2 separate regions of the Homo sapiens genome follow, and region 1 is linked to region 2. The links are contacts of gene promoters, found by promoter capture Hi-C in blood cells and fetal thymus (Javierre and others, 2016). All regions are on one chromosome and are shown on one strand. Each heading gives the region's core, a stretch centred on a gene start or on the middle of the fragment in contact. The rest is flanking DNA. Distances are from core to core; before and after follow the strand shown.

Region 1 (4,653 bases), core at 1-2,500, 620 kb after region 2:
CCTCACCCTCCCCAAAGCTCTGGTGACACCTGCCAGGTTTCCTCCAGGCCACAGCTCGGCAGCCCGATCTTAGAACAGAACGTGGCACGCAGGGCAGGTCTGGCTGAGGGCCCAGCATTGTCAGCGGGGTTGGAGGTCTTCCCGGGCCTCGAAGGGGAGACGTAGGCTTCTCAGGGCAGCCCAGGACGCGTCCTCACGAACCACAGCGAAATTACAGCAGGTATCTCGCGGATAGGAGTCTGCATCATTCCGTCTCCATGCCGTGGTTTCTGAAATTATGCAACTATCTCGGCATTCCAGAGGGCTCAGAGTAGCCACGCGCAGAGGCCCTCCCCATGGGGTGGATGGAAGCGTCCACTCGCGGCGCGAGGAATATCCCTGGGCCCCTCGGGAGAGTCTGCAGGGGCAGCCCCTGGGTGAGCAGGCCCAGTGCGGCCTCTCCCTGAAGGGACTTTCGGGCCCTCCCGGGTCGGGGCTTCACCGGTAGCAGGCAGGGCTTTGATATTAATGCTTAAAGGGAAAGCAGAGCTGAGCTGTCAGGACGTTGGTTAGCTACAAACCCTACTCTTGTTAAAAGAGAAATGGGGTCGGGGAAGGGGTTCTCCAGCCCTGAACTTCCCGGGCCGGGCAGGACGCGGTCCCTCCAGGAGTCGGGGCTCCCCCGCCTGGGGACGCACTGGGGCAGGCGCGCTTCTCCTCTCGGGGTCCCATGTGCCGCCGGCTCTCGGACGGTAAATCAGGGCTCGGGTGGGGGCGATGGGGGGCCCGCGGCCTCGGTGCCCCTGGCCAGCCTCGGAGGCGCACGGGCCAGGCCGCGGGGCGAGAAGCGAGCGCGGGAGGGCGGCAGCTGGCGGAGCGGGAAGGGAGCGGGGCGGCTGCGGCTGCGGCGCGGAGGAGCGCCATTTACGTTCGGGCCCGCGCCAGGCGCTGACGTGGGCGGCCCTGTCTCGGCTTCCGGGCCCGCAGGGTCCTCGGGGCGGACGGCGCTCCCGCCAGCGGCGCTGAGTCCGGCCCGACCCTGCCCGACTTCCTCGGGGACAGGCGGTTTAGAACGTGCGGAACACCAGGCCCGGGGCCTCCGCCGGGCTGCAGCCCCGCGAGCTTCCCGCCAGGCTCCCGCCCCGCCCCGCCCCGCAGCCGCGTCCCGGCCGGGCGGGCCCTGAGCCGCCCGCGTGAGTCCGTGCGCCGCCCGCGCTGGGAACCAGGAGACCAACCGCGAGGCCCCGCCCGCGCGCGCCGCCGTGTCCCCGCCCGCGCGGTCGTCGGAGCGCGGCTCAGCGGCGCGGCGGAGACTCGGCACGGCGGCGGCCAGGCGCAGGCGGGCGGGCGGAGCAGCGGACGGCGCCGAGGCCGCCCCACGCGCCGGGCTCGCGGCGGCGCAGCGCGCCGGAGTGGTCGGGGCCCGCGGCCGCTCGCGCCTCTCGATGGGCAGCTCGCACTTGCTCAACAAGGGCCTGCCGCTTGGTAAGGCCGCGCGCGCGCGCGTTTCCGGCCGCGGGCGGGGGCGGGGCGGGGCGGGTGCCGCGCGGGCGGGGGGCGCGGGGGCGGACCGAGCGCGCGCCCGCGGGCCGCCGGCTTTGTGTGCGAGTGCGCGTGCGCGCCGGCGTCCGCGCGTGGCCGCGGTCGGGGGCGGGACCGCGGGAAGGGTCTTGCGCATGCGCGGGCCGCTGCGTGTGCGCGAGCGCCGCAGTCTGCTCTCCCCGCCCGCGGCCCGTGCAGGTGACACAAAAGGGCCTGTGGGCCTCTGGGCTGCCCCGCCGGACCCCCAGCTCCACCGACCCCAGCCCCGTCGGACCCGGGACGGCACCCCGGGTCCCGATCCCCGGCCGCTACCCCGTCCCCGGTCATGACCCCGTGGCTGGGCCTGCGGGGCCGGGATGGGGCGGGAGCCGTGCGCAGCTCGGGGTGTCCTGGGGCGCGCGCTCCCGGGCCACTCGCGGGAGCGCGCCTCCCGCGGGGAGGCCGCCGGCGACCGTGGCCGCGCGCTGTGGGGGAAGGGGACGGGGCGCGGGTGCCGGGTATGACCGTGGAGGAGGCCGCTGCCCTCAGACCGGGCCCAAAGCGCAGCCCCCGGCGGTGACGCGGGAGGGCCCGGGGTCTCCGTTCCCGCGAACTCCGCGAGGTCCCGGACCGGCCCAGCGCCCCCACCTGCCCTTGCCTGGGCCCGCCCAGGTCCCGGGGCGCCTTCCTCGCGGGCTGCGGCCGCGGAAGCAGGGAGCACGGGCGGGCGCCGGGCTTGCCACCATCGCCATCTTGCAGCGCCCGCGTCCTGGGCCGGCCCGAGCCGCTGCGCGGAGCCTCTCTTTCCCTCGACCCGGCTGCAAAGGCAGAGTCCGTGCGCCTGAGCCCCGGGCCGAGACTGGAGCGTTCTCTGGCGGCCTCCAAGGGCGCCGGTGTCTGGAAGCCCGGCCTGGGCCAGATCCCTTTTGCTGTCGTCTCCGTGATTGCCGGGACAGAATTCCCTTCCAGTGGGGAAAAGGGAAGGCGGTCGCGCCCTTCCCGGTGCCCTGAGTGGGGAGGTGAAACCCTGAGAGTTGGGGCAAGAGGGCCTGGAGCTAGGGCCGAGGCGGCGGGTGCGCAGGGTGTTCCGTTGAGCCCGAGCCCCCCCCCCCTCCCCGGCCTCTCCACCGTTTCTGTAGGAGCGCGGCAGGGAGCACACGTCCCTCGGGAAGAAAACGGCGCTGGCGGCTGGGCCCGCACCGCGGCCGTCCTCGCTGAGCTCCTAGCGCGTGGCCTTTGCGCGTCTGTGTACCCGTCTGCAGCTTGGGGCAGGGTTGGGGGAGAACCGTGGGGTAACTATTTGCCGTTGCAGCTGAGGATGACAGCTGCGGTTTGGGGGTCCCCCTTTCTGTGTCCTGGAACTTTGTAGGGCGTGGCTCTGCCCTGGGCCTCAGCACCCGGCCTCCCAGGTCTCCCCTGCCTGCCCGGGCCTGGCCACCTCCCTCTGGGGTCTGGGTTTGGCTCCTGGTTGGGGCTGTCGGCTCCGCAGACGCCTTTTGCTCTCTGTGATTCTGTTGCCCATCTTTGAGCACCTGCTTCCATACAGGCGTCCTCTGCAGAGCTCTGGGAGGGACACGCACTGGGGGTGGCATCTGGTCACTCCTGGGGGTGCCTCGTCCGCCTGCCCGGCCATTTTTGGGGTGTCTGCCATGTCCCCAACATGCACTTCTTCCTGTCAGCCTTGACCAGGGCAGCTGTTAGTTCTGAGAGGTGGGCGTGTGGTTGGGGATGTCAGCGAGTAGGATCTTCCCTTTTACTCGCTTGTCATTAACCTGAGAACGTGGCAGTGGGGGAGGAGAGGCTTGGCCCGGGGTGCACAGGACTGTGGGCTGGTCCTGTCCCTCTGATGAGTGGGACGAGCCTTGGTCCAGTCCTGTGGGCTTGGCGCAGAGCCGGCCCCCTGCCATGTCCTGGTGGGATTGGAAGTGCTGGCTCGTCCTGTCTGCCTCCCCCAAGGGCTGGGAGCCCCCCACTCTTTGGACATTTGTAGTGTAAGCAGACAGCAACTGTTAACCATCATTCTGTTAATAAATTTTTTCTGGAGGAACCCTGGACAGAAGTAGTCATGCTCTCCAGGAAACGGGCCCCAGGCTCGAGAGGCCCAGTCTCTTCCCTCGGGGCTTAGAGGTGGCCGTCAAGCCACACCTGGTTCCCCACCAGCCTGGCAGTTTTTCTGGTTTTTCTCCTCTGACTGTCACTTGCCCTCTCAACTTCCTGCGGCCAGTACCCCCAGAATGTGACCTGGTCTGAGCTGACGGTGGTGTCACTGAGCCAAGAGGCGTGTGGCTGGCACCACTAGTGTTGCTGAGAACTCTTCAGGCAGCACTTTGTGCCCGGCTGTGCCCTGGTGCTCCCCATGCAGTGCCCAAGTCAAAGGTGTGTGCCCTGTGAGGTGTTTACCCCGGTTGACTCTCCTTGTAGAAGGACTTAATGTTTCCCACTCCACTGGGGGCTGGAGAGGGCTCCATCCAGGTGGTGCTGACGGTGCAGGCCTGGCCCAGGGCCCAGGGGTGGCCAGGAGGTGGTAGAGGCAGCAGGCAGTGTCATACGGGTTCTGTGGTTGAACTGCATCGCCCAAGGGAACGCTGGTCGGAGCGCCGGGTGGAGCGCCAGGGTCCTCTGGTGGTCGCTGGATGTTGGTAGTTGTGGGTAAGAGCTCTGTGCCGGGAGTGTCTGGACCCCCGGGTCCTCCATTGTCAGCTGCAGTGGCCGGAGCCCACTGCTCTCCCCCGCACTGGGTCGTGGTAACCCACAAGGTGCCACCTGCGTCACTGACCATCGTTTCCAGAAGCCCCTCCGGCCACACATTCCATGTGGTATCTCCCACAAGGAAATGTTCGTTTTTTTCCCTGTGAAGCCAGAAATTTCTTGGTGGCTCTTTGCCGAGCCAAACGTTAACCTTGAGTTGTCTCTCTGGGCGGCCCCAGGTGGTACCAGTTCTCACGGGTGTTGAAGGAGAGTGAGGATGGCCCTGAGGGAAGCCCAGTTGGTTTGGTTGGGGAGGCGTTGGGGCTATGGCCCTGAGAGAGGTGTGGGCGGTGTTGGGACCAGGCCCCTTCTGCACCCTCCCCTGGCACCGCCGTTAACTCTCCAGGCCTGGTGTGGCCCAAGCCACCCTGCCTACCCGTGCTACCCTACCCACACGTGCCACCC
Region 2 (4,378 bases), core at 104-2,603:
AAAAATCAAGGCTTGAAAGTCTGTGAAGCAGGTGGGTAGCACTGAAGAGCTGCTCCTGAGCCAGGCCTGAACTTTATCCAATTAGTCTTGTCTTCACAGGGTCTGCGCGCTCTCTCTCTCTCTCTCTCTCTCTCTCTCTCTCTCTCTCTCTCTCACACACACACACACACACACACACACAAAATACACGTTATCTACCTAAAAACGATTAACGTCACCACATCAGTTTTGATACTATGTTTCCACTTGAATGTCAAAGCCCATCGTGGGCACAGAAAGATTCGTGCTGCAATGGGTCCTATACAATACCCTCATCCATTTTATTTCTACCGAAACTTAAGACCAGCATTTTTTAAACGCCGAGATTTTAAACCACGGTTCCTGTGAGTGGAGCAAAACCAGCCATTAAGTCGCCAGGTCCCATCTCATGCACTGAGGCTTCAAGGACTATCAATCTGCATCCTGGGGCGAGGGGAACATCCCAGGCGGAGGCCCGGACGCCGAGGGCGCGCAGCCCCCCAGCAGGGTACCCACACCCGGCTCACCCCCGCCTCCACCTGCCAAGGGCCGGACCGCGGCCCGGCTTCCCGGGGGAGCGTCCGCGCTGACCAACGCCCGGGCGCCGCGAGTGTCAACGCCAGACACCGCCTGCAAACAAAAAGCGACCCTCGGCCCGACCCCTGGCCCCGGCGCCGGCCCCGGGACCCCAACCTGCCCCTCCCACCGCGGCCGCCCCGGACCGGGGGCGCCGCACAAAGGCCGGCCCGACCCGCTCGGCGCCGCGGGAACAAAGGCGGCCGCCTCGGCCGGGCCGGGCACAGGTGCAGCCGCAGGGCCCGGCCGGGCCCAACATGGCCGCGCCCGCCCGCCCGGCCCCGTTAGCCGCCGCCGCCCGCAGGCCGCCGCCCCTCCCCTGCCCGGACTCGTCCCGGCCTCCGCGGTCCGCCCGGTCCTCCCGCCGGCCCTCAGGCCTCCGCGGTCCTCGCGGTCCCCACGACCCTCTCAGGCCGCCCGGCCTCCCGGTCCCCCAGCCCCTGAGCCGGCCCCTCAGGCCTCCTCAGTGCCCCCACTCCTCCCGGCGCTCCCGCCCCCTCAGGCCTCCGCGGTCCTCCCCGCCGCCCCTCAGGCCTCCCACAGCCCGGCCTCCCGGCCCCAGCCCCGGCGGTTGGCGGCCCGCGACTGTTGGGCGGGCGCCCCAGTGACCTGCGGTGCGTCGCATCCTCGGCGGGCGGCTCTCCGGAGCGGCAGGCTGGGAGGGGGCCGGGGCCGTGCGGCGGTAGGGCCCAGGCGGGGAGGGGGCGGCGGCGGCGGCGGGCGCAGCGCGGCCAGGCCGAGGCTCTCGCGCGCGGCGCCGACCCCGCCCCCGCGCCTCCCGCCCGCCGCCGCCGCCGCAGCCGGGGCCGCCGCCGCCTCGCAGAAGCCGCGGGAAAAGTGCGCGCCGCTGATTGGCTGCCGCGCTCGCGGGGCCCGCGGACCGGGCTTTTCAAATCCGCGCCGGGGCCGCGCACGGGCGGGGCGGGCAGGCACGCGGCGGGTGGGGGCCGCGCGGGCGGGCGGGGCTGGCAGCGCCGGGAGGGCCGGGCCGCGGGCCCCGCGAGCCGCCTCAGAGTAGCGCCGGGCGCGCGCCCTGCTCCCGCTACTCGGCGGCGCGCACCCGGCCCAGACCCGGCGCCCGCGGGCGCCGCGCTCAGTGACGTCACGATCCGCGCCCAATCACCGTCCGGAGCCGGCGCCCCCGAGCCGTGGGCGCGCGGCCGCGGAGGCTGGCGTTGGGCGCGCGGCCCGCCCGCGCGGGTCCCCAAGCTCCTGTCCCGTGAGAGGGGCGCGGGGCCTGGGGCCCGCGGGAGGCTGCTAGCGGCGTCCGCCTCGCGGAGCGGCAGTGCGGGGACGGGTGGGGAAACCGCCGCAGAGGCCCCGCCGTGGCGGGCCCGGAGCCTCAGAACAGACGTGGCGGAGAGGGTCAGACGCCACGACGGGGCAGGGCAGGGCGTCGTGCTCTTCCCGCCTAACGGCCGCAGGGCGTGAACGAGTCCCCCGGGCGAGGGTCCGACCCGGAGCTGGGCGCGGCTGCGGGAGGACCGCTCGCGAGGGGAGGACGCCTGGTCCAGGGGCGCTACCCCAGCGCCGCTGCGGTAGAGCCGGGCTTCAGGGGGTGGCGCGGGCGACTGCGTGCGGCACAGGGAGGAGGAGGAAGCGGCGCGGGCGAGCGGGGAAGTCAGACGCTGCAAAAAGTGGGCGGGCCGGGCGGTTGAAGCCGGTGTGATTTGCTGCCCGCCGCCCATGGAAGTTCGGCTCCTGCCTCCAGGTGCTGCCGGAGCCGGCGGCCTTGGGTTTTCTGTCACGCAGGTTCAGGGAGCCGGGAACACCTTCGGCCTTGAGCCTTAGTGTCTGCTCGAGCTTTACAGGCCCAGCTTGAGCCCTCGCTGAGAAGCGGGCCCAGGGGAGCCTGGCGAGAGTTTGGTCAAGGAGAGCTTTGTGAAAGTGCGCTACCCGGGCTATAGAACGACACCTCAGCCCAGGTCCTGCCTCCCCGGACCCACCTCCAGCCACCAAGGAGTGGCCACAGTTCACCTCCTCTTCCTCTCCCGCGCCGCCTCCGCTGCTGTCCCTTCACAGGTGCTGGGCCCCTGTATGGGTTGAGTTGTGGCCCCCCCAAAAAAACAAGGGTTGCTGCAAGACTTACTATAAGGCTACAGTAATTGAGACATTGTGGTACTGGTGGAAAAATACACAAATAGATCCATGAACAGAATAGAGAACCCGGATATAGACCACATAATGGAGTCAGCTGAGCTTGACTCTAGGAAATGGAATGGAGAAAAGACAGTCTTTTCGACAAATGGTGCTGGAACAACTGGATGTCCACATGCAAAAAAAAATCAGGCTAGACACAGACTTTACACCCTTAACAAAAATTAATTCAAAATGGAGCCAAGGCCAGTGGCTCACACCTGTGAGAAGTGTGAGCCAGCACTGTGGGAGGCCAAAGTGAAAGGATTGCTTGAGCCCAGGAGTTGGAGACCAGACTGGGCAACATAGCAAGACCTCGTCTCTATCACCAAACAAATAAATGAATTTTTAAAATTACGGCCAGTGCCAGGCATGGTGGCTCACACCTTTAATACAAGCACTTTGGAAGGCCGAGACAGGTGGATCGCCTGAGGTCAGGAGTTCGAGACCAGCCTGGCTAACATGGTGAAACCCCGTCTCTACTAAAAAAAAATACAAAAATTAGCCAGGCATAGTGACGGGCATCTGTAATCGCAACTATTCAGGAGGCTGAGGCAGGAGAATCACTTGAACCCGGGAAGTGGAGGTTGCAGTGAGCCGAGATCATGCCACTGCACTCTAGCCTGGGTGACAGAGCAAGACTGTCTCAAAAAATAAAAAATAACAAAAAGTGAATAAGCCAGGCACAGTGGCTCACACCTGTAGTTCTAGTTATTTGGAAATCCGAGGCAGGTGGATCATTTAGTTCTGGGCTATGCCAGTCAGGTGTCTGCACTAAGTTTGCCATCAGTATGGTGACTTCCCAGGAGCTGGGAACCACCAGGTTGCCTGAGGAGGGGGGAGCCAGCCCAGGTCAGAAACAGAGCAGGTCAAAACTCCCATGCTGATCAGTAGTGGGACTGCACCTGTGAATAGCCACTGCGCTTCAGCCAGGACAACATAGCAAGACCTCGTCTTAAAAAGTGGACAAAAAGGCAGTGGCTTACACCTGTAATCCCAGCATTTTGGGAGGCCAAGGCAGGAGGATCCCTTAAGGCTAGGAGTTTGAAACCAGCCTGATCAACATTGAAATCCTATCTCTACAAAAAAATAAAAAAACAGCTGGGCATGGTGGTGCATGCCTGTAGTCTCAGCTACTCAGGAGGCTGAGACAGAAGGATCTCCTGAGCCCAAGAGTTACATGAGGCTACAGCAAGCTGTGATTGCACCACTGCATTCCAATCTGGGCAACAGAATGTGACCCTGTCTATAGTAAAGTGGACAAAAGACCTCCACAGACGCCTCCCCAAAGTAGATACCCAGATGGCAAGGATGCACGTGAAAAGAAGATCCTCATTATCAGGGCGTAATCTCAACTACTCAGCAGGCTGAGGGGGGACGACTGCTTGAGCCCAGGAGTTTGAATACAGCAAGACCCCATCTCTCAAAATAAAAATAACAAGAGGTAGAGAGACCTGGGCTAGCAGTTAGTATGCTCAGCCCCCTTGTCATGGGACGCCTGGGAAGCTTCAGAGAGTCCACACCAGCAAGAAGGCTCTCATCAGACACACCTCTTGGACCTTGAACTTCCCAATCTCCATAACTGTAAGAAATAAATTCCGGCCAGGCACAGTGACTCACGCCTGTAATCCCAGCACTTTGGGAAGCT

What was found. Contacts are between HindIII fragments. The CHiCAGO score rates a contact against its expected background, and 5 or more counts as called.
Region 1: a contact is called between the fragment with the promoter of CTBP1 here and the fragment with the promoter of NSD2 in region 2, in 1 of 17 cell types (naive CD4 T cells). The highest score is 5.2, in naive CD4 T cells.

Annotation. Positions count from the first base shown.
Region 1 is chr4:1,245,727-1,250,379 of GRCh38, reverse strand. CTBP1 (C-terminal binding protein 1) reads left to right here and starts at 1,250. Exons shown (of 10, transcript NM_001012614.2): 1 at 1,250-1,464. It overlaps CTBP1-DT (CTBP1 divergent transcript), which reads right to left and starts at 940. Exons shown (of 2, transcript NR_033339.1): 1 at 908-940; 2 at 1-269. RefSeq lists enhancers at 1-61, 122-171 and silencers at 542-1,471, 1,642-2,361. The HindIII fragment of the contact is 9,350 bases long and covers 1-4,653 here.
Region 2 is chr4:1,868,368-1,872,745 of GRCh38, reverse strand. It overlaps NSD2 (nuclear receptor binding SET domain protein 2), which reads right to left and starts at 1,353. Exons shown (of 22, transcript NM_001042424.3): 1 at 1,204-1,353. It also overlaps the pseudogene RN7SL671P. RefSeq lists silencers at 920-1,619, 1,670-1,899, 1,930-2,189 and an enhancer at 1,923-2,424. The HindIII fragment of the contact is 4,701 bases long and covers 1-4,238 here.